Regions from separate parts of the Homo sapiens genome. Here regions 1 and 2 are each linked to region 3. The links are contacts of gene promoters, found by promoter capture Hi-C in human tissues and cell types (Jung and others, 2019). All regions are on one chromosome and are shown on one strand. The core of a region is centred on a gene start or on the middle of the fragment in contact, and the rest is flanking DNA. Distances in the headings are between cores, read along the strand shown. Region 1 overlaps PLEKHG4B (pleckstrin homology and RhoGEF domain containing G4B). Region 2 has its middle 14 kb from the start of PLEKHG4B. Region 3 holds the start of LRRC14B (leucine rich repeat containing 14B).

The links. The method cuts DNA at HindIII sites, captures the fragments that hold promoters and counts their contacts. A contact is called where the count stands out against the background at its distance.
Region 1: a contact is called between a fragment that was not itself captured here and the fragment with the promoter of LRRC14B in region 3, in 2 of the 25 tissues and cell types used here (IMR-90 fibroblasts and aorta).
Region 2: a contact is called between a fragment that was not itself captured here and the fragment with the promoter of LRRC14B in region 3, in 3 of the 25 tissues and cell types used here (H1 embryonic stem cells, mesendoderm cells and neural progenitor cells).

Annotation. Positions count from the first base shown.
Region 1 is chr5:125,891-129,062 of GRCh38, forward strand. The region is part of intron 2 of PLEKHG4B (pleckstrin homology and RhoGEF domain containing G4B); the gene reads left to right. Among named protein-coding and RNA genes, the nearest start is that of PLEKHG4B, 35 kb to the left of the region's middle. The HindIII fragment of the contact is 6,287 bases long and covers 1-3,172 here.
Region 2 is chr5:76,125-79,384 of GRCh38, forward strand. No RefSeq gene overlaps it. Among named protein-coding and RNA genes, the nearest start is that of PLEKHG4B, 14 kb to the right of the region's middle. RefSeq lists an enhancer at 1,127-2,026. The HindIII fragment of the contact is 3,709 bases long and covers 1-3,260 here.
Region 3 is chr5:190,104-193,397 of GRCh38, forward strand. It overlaps LRRC14B (leucine rich repeat containing 14B), which reads left to right and starts at 1,392. Exons shown (of 2, transcript NM_001080478.3): 1 at 1,392-2,334. The coding sequence starts at 1,436. LOC124900929 (a long non-coding RNA gene) reads right to left here. Exons shown (of 2, transcript XR_007058670.1): 2 at 2,625-2,885. RefSeq lists an enhancer at 1,057-1,106. The HindIII fragment of the contact is 15,773 bases long and covers 1-3,294 here.

The DNA of each region.
Region 1 (3,172 bases), core at 311-2,810, 64 kb before region 3:
ATTTTTTTCTTTTATCATTTTGAATGTTTTGTCCCACTGCCTTCTGGACTTGAAAGATTCTGATGCAAAATATGCCGACAATCTTATTAAGGTTGTTGCATGTGATGAGTCACTTCTATCTTGCTGCTTTCAGGATTCTTTGTCTTTGTCATTCAAAAGCTGGATTATAATGTGTTTTGGTGTGGGTCTCTTTGACTTCCTCTTACTTGGAGCTTATCAGGCTTCTTGGATGTTTGTATTCATGTCTTTCCTCAAATTTGGGAAGTTTTCACACATTATTTCTTCAAATATTCTATGCCTTTTTACTCTCCTTCTGGAACTCCCATTTTACATATGCTGGCTGCTCGATGGTATCCCACAGGTCTTTTAGGCTTTGTTCACTTTTCTTTCTTCTGCCTGCTCAAATCCACCTTTGAACCCCTTTAGTGAATTTTTCATTTCAGTTATTATACTTTTCAGCTCCAGAATTTGTTTGGCTTCTTTTTAGGATTTTTAATATCTTTGTTGATATTTTCACTTTTTCATACATCACTTTATTTTCTTCACATCTTTCTTTAGTTTTTTGAGCATCTTTAAGACTGTTGTTTTAAAGTCTTTTCCTAGTAGGTCTACTATCAAGTCTTTTCCAGGGACAGTTTCTAATTATTTTTTCCATTGAATGGAACATACTTTCCTGTTTGTTTGAAGGCCTCATGACATTTTGTTGAAAATTGGACATTTGAATCTAATTATGTGACACCTCTGCAAAGCAGACTTTCCCCCTCCCTTGGGGTTTGCTTTTTATGTTGTTGAAGCGGCACTGTTTTCTGGGGTAAATACCCGGGGTTCATCATCTCACACCAAGAAGATTAAGGACATGGACGCACATGAGGAGTGAGTTTAGGAGTGGAGGTTTAATAGGCAAAAGAAAGAGAAAGGAGAAGAACTCTTACTCTCAAGACAGAGAGGGGTGCCCAAAAGGGAAATCTGGCCTGCGGCAGAGAGCACCAGATTTTATAGGCAGGCTTGAGGAGGTGGTATTCCATTTACATGGGGCCCACAGATTGGTTGGACCAGGTGTGACATTTACATAGTGTGCGGGTCGGGGAAGCTGGCCACCCCACCCTAATCTTATGCAAATGTTCTTTCCACTTGGCCAGCGCCATCTTGCCTGCTCCTTACTATACATGTGGCTGGCAAAAGAAGGGAAGACGGAGCTGCCATTTTGAACATGCCTAGTCCCAGGTAGCCTTTTCTTATTGGCGCAACTGCCAGCATTCACCTGTATGAGCTTCCAGCTTGCTTGTCTATGTCTGCAGCTCGATTTTAAAGGCTGCTCTTTGTTAGAAAAGAAAATGATTTGGGGGCTGATTTTCATTAAAAGGAAACGTTACTACAGACTTTCTTTCCCTCACTATCTGCCTAATTTCTTCTTAACTCCTATATCATTGTTTCTGCTTATTGTTGGTTTTTATTATTATTATTATTATTATTATTATTATTATTATTATAGGCTGCCTCTGTGCCAAGGCCCAGCCTGAGGTGTAACCGTAAGGTCATTTCAGTTCCTTCTGAGCCTGGTCCTTTCTTTGAGCATACATGGTCATTTTCTAATTTTCCTTGTATACATTTTTTTAAAATGTCCTAGTGTTTAATGTCTGGCTCACAAAAGGGGAAAAGACAAAAAAATGAAAGGGGTGGCAAAAGGGCATCACCTCTTTAAATCCCCTGGAAGTCACTTCAGTGGCAGTGGTAGGTGGCGGCCGAACAGTGAGAAAGGTGCAACAATATTGAACTTGCACCTCTTTGTCTGCACCTCTGTGGTCACCAGCCACAGTGATTAGAGCACTGTTAATGAAAAGAGTCAAACTCTGTAAAATGTTTGAAGGGATTTATTCTGAGCCAAACATGAGTGACTATGGCCCCTGATACAGCCCTCAGGAGGTCCTGAGAACATGTGCCTGAGGTGGTCAGGGTACAGCTTGGTTTTATACATTTTAGGGATATTGAGACATCAATCAAATAAATTTAAGAAATACATTGGTTTGGTCCAGAAAGGCAGGACAACTAGGGGATTTGGTGAATTTAAACATTTTCTGGCTGACAATTGGTTGAGTTCTTCTAAAGACCTGGGGTCAATAGAAAGGGAGTGTTCAGGTAAAGATAAAAGATTGTGGAGACAAAGTTTCTTTTGAATCTTATGGTGGCTGCCCTTAGGGACAATAGATGACAAATGTGTCCTATTCAGACCTTTAAAAGGTACTAGATTTTAGTTAATCTCTTCAGGACTGGGAGGGCCCGGAAGAAAAAGATCTAGCTATGTTAATAGAGAGTCTTTACAGATACAAATTTTCCCCCACCAAGGACAGCTTTGCAGGGCCATTTCAAAATATGGCAAAGAAACGTATTTTGCAGTAAAATATTTTAACTTTCTTCTTTGTCACATGATGTTATGCCAGAGTCAGATTGGAAAGTCACAATCTGTATGGCTAAATAAAAACCACATGATGAGAATTTATGGTTTGTAGGGCATGAACTCCCCAGACCCCTCAGATAGGCATTTAGGCAAGATTAAAAAAATCAGAGCTTAGTCCTCAGCACTGATCCACTGTATTTGGATGACAGGGGTTTTCTTTTTTGTTTCTTGGGGTTTTTTGGCCACTTTGGCTCTTGCAAGCCGCTCCAGGAACACAGGCACAGCTGCCTGCGGGGCTGGAGGTGGGGCTGCCAGTGGGGCCAAGAGCTGAAATTGACCACAATCAACCACAATTTGCCCTTCATGCTTTTGGTAGACTCCAGAGTTCCAAAATAGTTATGGCAGACAGATTCTGCCAGTGCAGGTGTTGTCCAGATGGGGAGACAGACTGCTGGTGCCTCCTACTCCACCATCTTCCCAGAATCCTCCTCACAACTGGGATAACCATAAAGGGTGTAAACCAGAAATGAAATTCTAAGTCCCCCACCAACTGAACAGACCCCCTCTCCCTTGGCCAAGGAGATCCCAAAGAAACTGGAAGAACGAGTTCAGGCCGTGACAGGGAGGGGTCGGACAGGCCTTTGGAGTTTAGGCACAACTGACCAGCATTAGTATTAAAATAGAGACCAAAAGACTGACGAAACAGATTCCGTAGCAATAAGATACCAAATCTGAACCTGTGGCGTCACATGACAACAGGCCCTGAGGAAATGAAAT
Region 2 (3,260 bases), core at 486-2,985, 110 kb before region 3:
GCCCACAGGAACATTGACAACATACCCACGCTCTCTGCTGCTCTTGTGGCTTTCATTCAAACAAGAACCAGTGGAGAAACCCTGAGGTAAGTGGTGGCCTCCCATAATTACAGGTGTGTTTCACGCTGCGGCATGTGGACCTTAAGTATTAACAGAAGTTGAAGATAAAGCCTGAAAGCCAACTCTGCTGAGAGGTAGAGGTCAGGGGCGGGTCTGGGTGTGAGCCCACCCGCTCACCTCCCTCACGCTCATCTGCAGTCTCCAGGCTTCATTCTCTGCCATGCCGCCTTCAACAGTATTTTTAAGAGTTTTCATTCTCATCAAAGGGGTGGAGATTAAATGGTGTCCTCACCCCAAAAGGTGCCCTGCCCTTACTGTTTGACCACAGAGGGCTGCTGGGAGTAAGGAGGTCTGGCGTCGGCCATGGCAGTGAGTCAGAAGACACGGGGTCCCCGCTGGCTTTCCGAGTATCGGCTGCGACCCACTGAACTCAGCCATTGAGCAGCTCCTCTGTCCTGGGTGCAGGCATCGCACCCAGTGCTGCTGTGGAAACCTCTGTGCTAGGGACAGAAATAGGAGGAGGAGGAAGAGATGGGGGCTGGCTGGGAGACTCCATGGGAGAGGAGGCCTAGGAGGGACAGGGGTCAGGAGGTCTCCTCAGCAGAGCCTGCTGGCAGCGGGGGAATTAGCCTACACCAGAAGTGGCAGGGCGCCACACGGACAGGTGGCGGATGGAGGATGCACTGGGCAATGTCTTAAAGCCCCAGTTAACTGGGGGTGTAGCGAGGAGCTGTGGAGGGTTGCCCCAGATGCAGAGTCGACACCGTCCTTCTGTATCTGTTCCCCTGTGCTTAGCGTCCTGTGTGACCCGGAGTGGATGCCCCATGTGCATGACGATGCTGGGTAGGTCAGCCTCATGTGCTACAGGGTGAGTTGACTGGCAGAGCCTCCCGCAGGTGCCTGGGCAAGAGGGGACAGGGCTGATCTAATTAGGGCCAGGACCATTCATCACTGTCCCAGCATACCGTAGCCCCTGGGGATGCAGAGGGGAGGAAGAGGGCAGGAGAGAGGGTCAGAGGCTGTTGGTGTTACGGACAGAAGTGTGTGGCCCCAGCAGGTTGGGTCTGGCTCAGGGGAGCAGTAACAGCTGGAAAGAATAACAGCCCCTTTGAAACTGCCATCTGCAGACCTCCCTGGCTGGCTTGGGATGAGGCTGTGCAGGCAGGAAAGATGAGAGTCCGAGGAGGACTTTTCCTTTTTGTCCAGTGGGGACAGACACTGAGGGAACTTCTTGTTCATAAGGAAGCGGCCGCAATCCAGTGACCAACTTTAAGGAGGATGCACACAGACAGGTGTCAGCATAACTTGCTTTACTCTGAAGGGTGGAAGTTCATTAGAGTGACTTGTGGTGGATTCAGCAGCATTAAAATGCCAATGAATTAAGGTAATAGCATGACACAGTTATTCATTTCTTGTTCACACAGTCGTGGCAGGTGTGCGGCCTGCAGGTGGCTCTTTCCTGTGGGCCATTTAGAGACCCAGGTCTCTTCCCGCCTGTGGCTCTGCCTTCCCCAGAGCCATGGCTTCTGTGTCCAGGTGAAAAGGGGAAGAGGGCATGGAGGAGGCACACCTGGGCCTCCCACAGGAGAGACCTGCGTCCCACAGCCGCATGACAGCAGGGGAGGCCGCAGGCCTGGCTGGACAACTCGCCGTTGCTGCCCAGCTGCCTTGCCGTGAAGTTCCCAAATCTGAAAGCCGTTCATCAAAAGTGCAGAATAATGTTCTGTACTTAAATGTGACTTTAGTTAATAATCTTTGCTTGTCTACTATTTAACTATCAGTAGACCAGAAAGATGTTTTTGGTCAAAAGTAGAAATCTAACCTGGTGTTTTGCATTACACATTAGCGTTCCTGTCTCATTTGTGTTGCTGTGGGGTGCTGGGATCTGCGTCACTGTGTCTCTGTGTCTGGGGGCGTGGAGACTGCTGGCCCCAGGACTTCTTTCCATTGCTCTATTAAAAATGCCTGACATTCCCAGAACACCACAGGGGTTTCTCACCCCTGTCATGGGTTTTCTAAAGGCTGATTCCAGGCTGGGTCCAGGCACTTTTGTCCAGAGGCAAAGAGGCGGAAACTGCCAAGCCTCCCATGGCCCCATGGAGGCAGGAGGCCCCTCCCCGGGAGGCTCCAAGTGCCTCCCTGCCACCACCACCATTATGCAGCCTGAAGTGGGGACAGAGTCCCTGGTGTCGTCGGCCAGGCCCCCCAACTCTGGGCGCCTCAGAGAAGCCCCTCCAACCTAAGGGAGGAAGAAGGAGAACATCTGTGCGTCTCTGGTCTCTTGGCAGAGTCTTGCTTGTGTAAGACGCATCAGATCGGGAAACTCCAGGCACATCTTCCACGGCAGCTCGGGTGGCCTGGGAGCCTCCTCTGCCAACCCATTTCCTCTTGTCCTGTTGGCTGCCCTCAGGTTCTGTGAGTGGGCCCACCTCACCTGTGCCGGGAATTGGCATCCTGTCCCTCTGCATCTAGGGCTGCCTCGAGGTGGCTCTGTTCACCCTGGAGGAGGCCAATGCTTGGGGCTTTGTGTGAAGCCAGCAGCCTTGGGTGCTGCCCACTAGGGGGTGCGTGGGGGCTGAAAAGATGCCATCTCCAGGCTGCCTTGCGCTGACTGCTTTACCCCTAGCTGCCCTCCTTAGGCTGCCCTCCTTGACCCTCCTCTGCTGATCACCATTTCTTACAGGGCAAAAGGTGGCAAAGCTGTGATGCCAGTCCCAGCAGGTTCCTGTTAGGAATCAGGGTTCCCAACTCAAACGCCAGTGTGGAGGCCCTGCCTCACGTCTGCCTGCTCAGCACCTCTCTTCTCCTCCATGACTTGCATTAATTAGGGATTGAATTTATATTCTAAAGCAGTTCTAAAGTTTTGGGTGCAATTTTTCCTAGTATATCTGGAATAGGTTACAGGGGGTTGCAGTTAGGTGTTGAATACATGCCATTTTTTAAAAGATGACAGTGTAGGAGATGCCTAATGTATCAAAAGATTGGTCCATCCAAATAATGAAGATGAGATGGTTTATGGCAGAGAGGAGAGTGTGGATTAGGTGTGAAAAGAGTGAGGGTAAACCTGGATGGACTGGCCTCGGGTTAGTAAAGAAAGAAGGAAATGCAGCAGCCTATGACCAAGACCAGCAGCAAACCCGGGGTCCTGCCACCCCAACAAGAGAACAGCAGGCCCTTGTAGTCTCAGGTGTGCCCACAGG
Region 3 (3,294 bases), core at 142-2,641:
TGGGGTCAGGGCCCACCCACCTCTTCACACACACCTCCGCCTGCTGGACAGTGCCTGGGCCCCACAACGGAGCACAGTCCCTTCTGCATGGGTCGCCTCCCGGGGAGAGGCATTGCTCAGGCTCAGGGAACAAACTGGGGAGGGTCAGACAGGGAGGCTGGTGGGGCACCCATGACCAGCACCCTCCAAGCTTGCTCAGCAGCCTTCCCCCTCCCACTGCTGTTTCTCTTTCTGTCTCCCCGTCTGTCTGTCTTTCTCAGTCTCTGTCTCTGCCTACCAGTCTCTCTCTCTCTCTCTTAGTCTCTGTCTCTCCCTTTCTGTCTCTCTCTCAGTCTGTCTCTTTCTGTTTCCCTTTCTCTCTCCCTCAGTCTCTGTCTCTCTCCCTCTTAGTTTCTGTCCCTCTGTCTCTGTCTCAGTCTCCGTCACTCACTTCTCTCAGTCTCCCTCAGCCTCTGTCTCATGGCCGTGACCCTCCAAAGCCCATGGACACGTGGTGCCCTGTAGTGATGTGTGCAGTGATGTGTGCAGCGATGTGTGCTGACCCTGCCCTGAGTGGCAGTGTCACGGGGAGAGGTGAGTGCAGCACCCATCAGCTGTCCAACACGGTCAGTGCTGGGAGTGAACCATCAGGCACCGCCCCCCAACACAGGTGTATCCCATTCCCTGCAGCTTTCCCTGCCGCACAGGCGGCAGGGTTGCAGACAGGACACTGCAGCTCAGAGAGAGCTGGGGGCTCATCCGAGGCCATCAGGGAGGCTCCACCTCTCCCAGCCACTCTCTCCCATGGAAAGTAGGGAAGCCACCCCCGCCGGGTCCTTGGGGAGAAGGAAAGGCACAGGGAAGGGGCAAAACAGCAGCTCCATTCCTGGCCACTCGTCTCACCCCAGATGCGAGGCGAAGTGTGGGAGCGGCCCCAGAGGCCACTGTGGAAAGGGAACTGGTTACCGAGTGAGGCGCAGGGGCCTGGCCTGTTCTCTGCCCCGTTGACTGGTGGGGGAGGTGCCCAGAGCTGGGCAGTAGCCCCGCTTGGATGGTAAACAGGACCTGCCCGCTGGCCTCACCGGCCGCCAGCACGAACGCCTGCCAAGACTGGCTTTCTGCAGCATGGAGCACAGGCTTCTCTGCCCAGCCCTGCCATGGGCACGGGCTGCCTTTCTGTGTCGGCTGGGTGCCTGAGCCAAGCAGCTCCCAACGGCTGGGTGCCTGAGCCAAGCAGCTCCCAACGGCTGGGTGCCTGAGCCAAGCAGCTCCCAACGGCTGCGTGCCCCGAGGCCGGGCAGACGCAGGTGTCCCAGGACCAAAATAGCAGTCAGATGATCATAAGGCCCCGTGGCAGGGCCCCCAGGGCAGGCTGCTCACAGCTGCTGCAGCTAAAGATAGGCGTGAAGGGCACACGCCTTGGGGAAAGTCGTGGGGAGCGGTCCTGTCTCGGGCCATGGACACAATGAGGTCACTCCGCTTCATTTCTGCAGAAGCTCTGGTGTCCCACCCCCAGGTGGCCCGGCAGAGCCTGGACAGCGTGGCCCACAACCTCTACCCACTCCTGTTCAAAGCCAGCTACCTGCTGGAGCAGGCGGAGGTGACGCGCGCGGTGCTGGGGCGCTGGCCCCTGGAGGAGTTCCGGCTGGGAGCGCTGCTGGGTCCTGGTGCCGACCACCCCCAGGACCTGCGCGACAGAACCTGCAGGGCCTGCCTGGAGGCGCTGGTGCGCGGCCTCGCGGACCACGTGCTGCAGGACCGGAGCCGCCGGCGGCTGCGGGTGGCTGACCTCACGGGCATCCGAGATGTGCAGGTGCAGCGGTGCCCGTGCGGGAGGGCGCTGGGCAGGTGGGGCCGCACCCAGCTGCTGGCCAGGACCTGCTGTGAGCTGCAGGCAGAGCCCCTCGCAGCCGGGCGCCCCGTCGAGGTCCTCGCCGACCTCTTCGTCACTGAGGGCAACTTCGAGGCGGTGGTGCAGGCTCTGAGGCCAGCGGGCCCGGCCCCTCTGCGGGTGCACTGCCCCTCGTTCCGGGCGGACAGCCTGAGCCCCAGCCAGCTCCTGCACGTGCTGCGTCTGGCTGGCCCGGGTGCCCTGCGCAAGCTGGAGGTGGTGCACAACGTGCGGCTGCATGCGGGCCACGTGCAGCAGCTTCTGGCCCAGGTGGGCTTCCCCCGGCTGGCCTCGCTCACCCTGCCCACCAAGGCCTTTGATGCACCCCCCACCTACGCCTCCACTCCCGACGGCGAGGACCCCCTCCTCGCCTCCATCGCCCGGGAGCTCAGCAAGATGGCGCAGCTCACTGAGCTCAGTGTGGCCTTCTCCACGCTGACCGGGAAGATCCCGACGCTGCTTGGGTGAGTCTTGGGGAGGGGACTGAGGGCGGGCTGGTGGCTGCAGAGGCAAGGAGAGATCGTCCAGGGGCCTGCTCATGTCCAAGGCCATGAGGCTACACGGCCTCCAGCCTCTCACTCCGGGTGTGGCCACAGCCACAGGACAGCGGCCCCGCCAAGGGGCAAGAGCACCGAAAGTCAGAGCCACCAGGAAAGAAGCGGGCTGCCATGTGTGACTTAGGGATGTGGAGAGAATGCCAGTTAAAAAAAGAGAATACGGAAATTACCAAACAGACGAAACAGAAGTGCCTACGTGGTGTGAGGAGTTGTCTATTGTTGATGAACGACTCACCCCAACACTTGGGGGCTTCAAACAGCAAACACGATTTCAGCTCAGAAATCTGAGCCTGTCGGTGCCTTTGGCTCAGGGCTGCTGTTGGCCAAGGGTGCCATCTCATCCGAAGGCCTGACAGGGCGGGATCCTCCCAGTCTCCCTCGAGGGAGGCCTGGGCTCCATGCTGCATGGACCTCCCCATGGTGGGACAGGAGGCTTATGCAGGATCCTCTCAGCAGATCTGCGTGAAGGAGGCAGAGAGGGCAGCAGCTAGGAAGGGGCCAGGCCAAGGCAGCCTCAGGCAGTGGTGAGGGGGATGCCCGGCGGTGGGTCCAAGGGGGGTGCCCAGCAGTGGATCCTGGAGGGGGAGTGCCTAGCGGTGGGTCCAAGGGGGGTGCCCAGTGATGGGTCCTGGGGAACGGGGTGCCTGGCAATGGGTGCTGGGAGGGAGCCTGGTGGTGGGTCCTGAAGGAGGGGCAGCTGGCGGTGGGTATTGGGGTCACCGGGTGATGGGTCCTGGTGGGGCAACCTAGCGGTGGGTCCGGGGGGCACCCAGTTTTGGGTCCTGGGGGTGGGACCTGGCAGTGGGTCTAGGGGGAAGGGGTGCCTGGTAGGTACTGGGGAAGCACCTAGAGGTGGGTCCTCAGGTG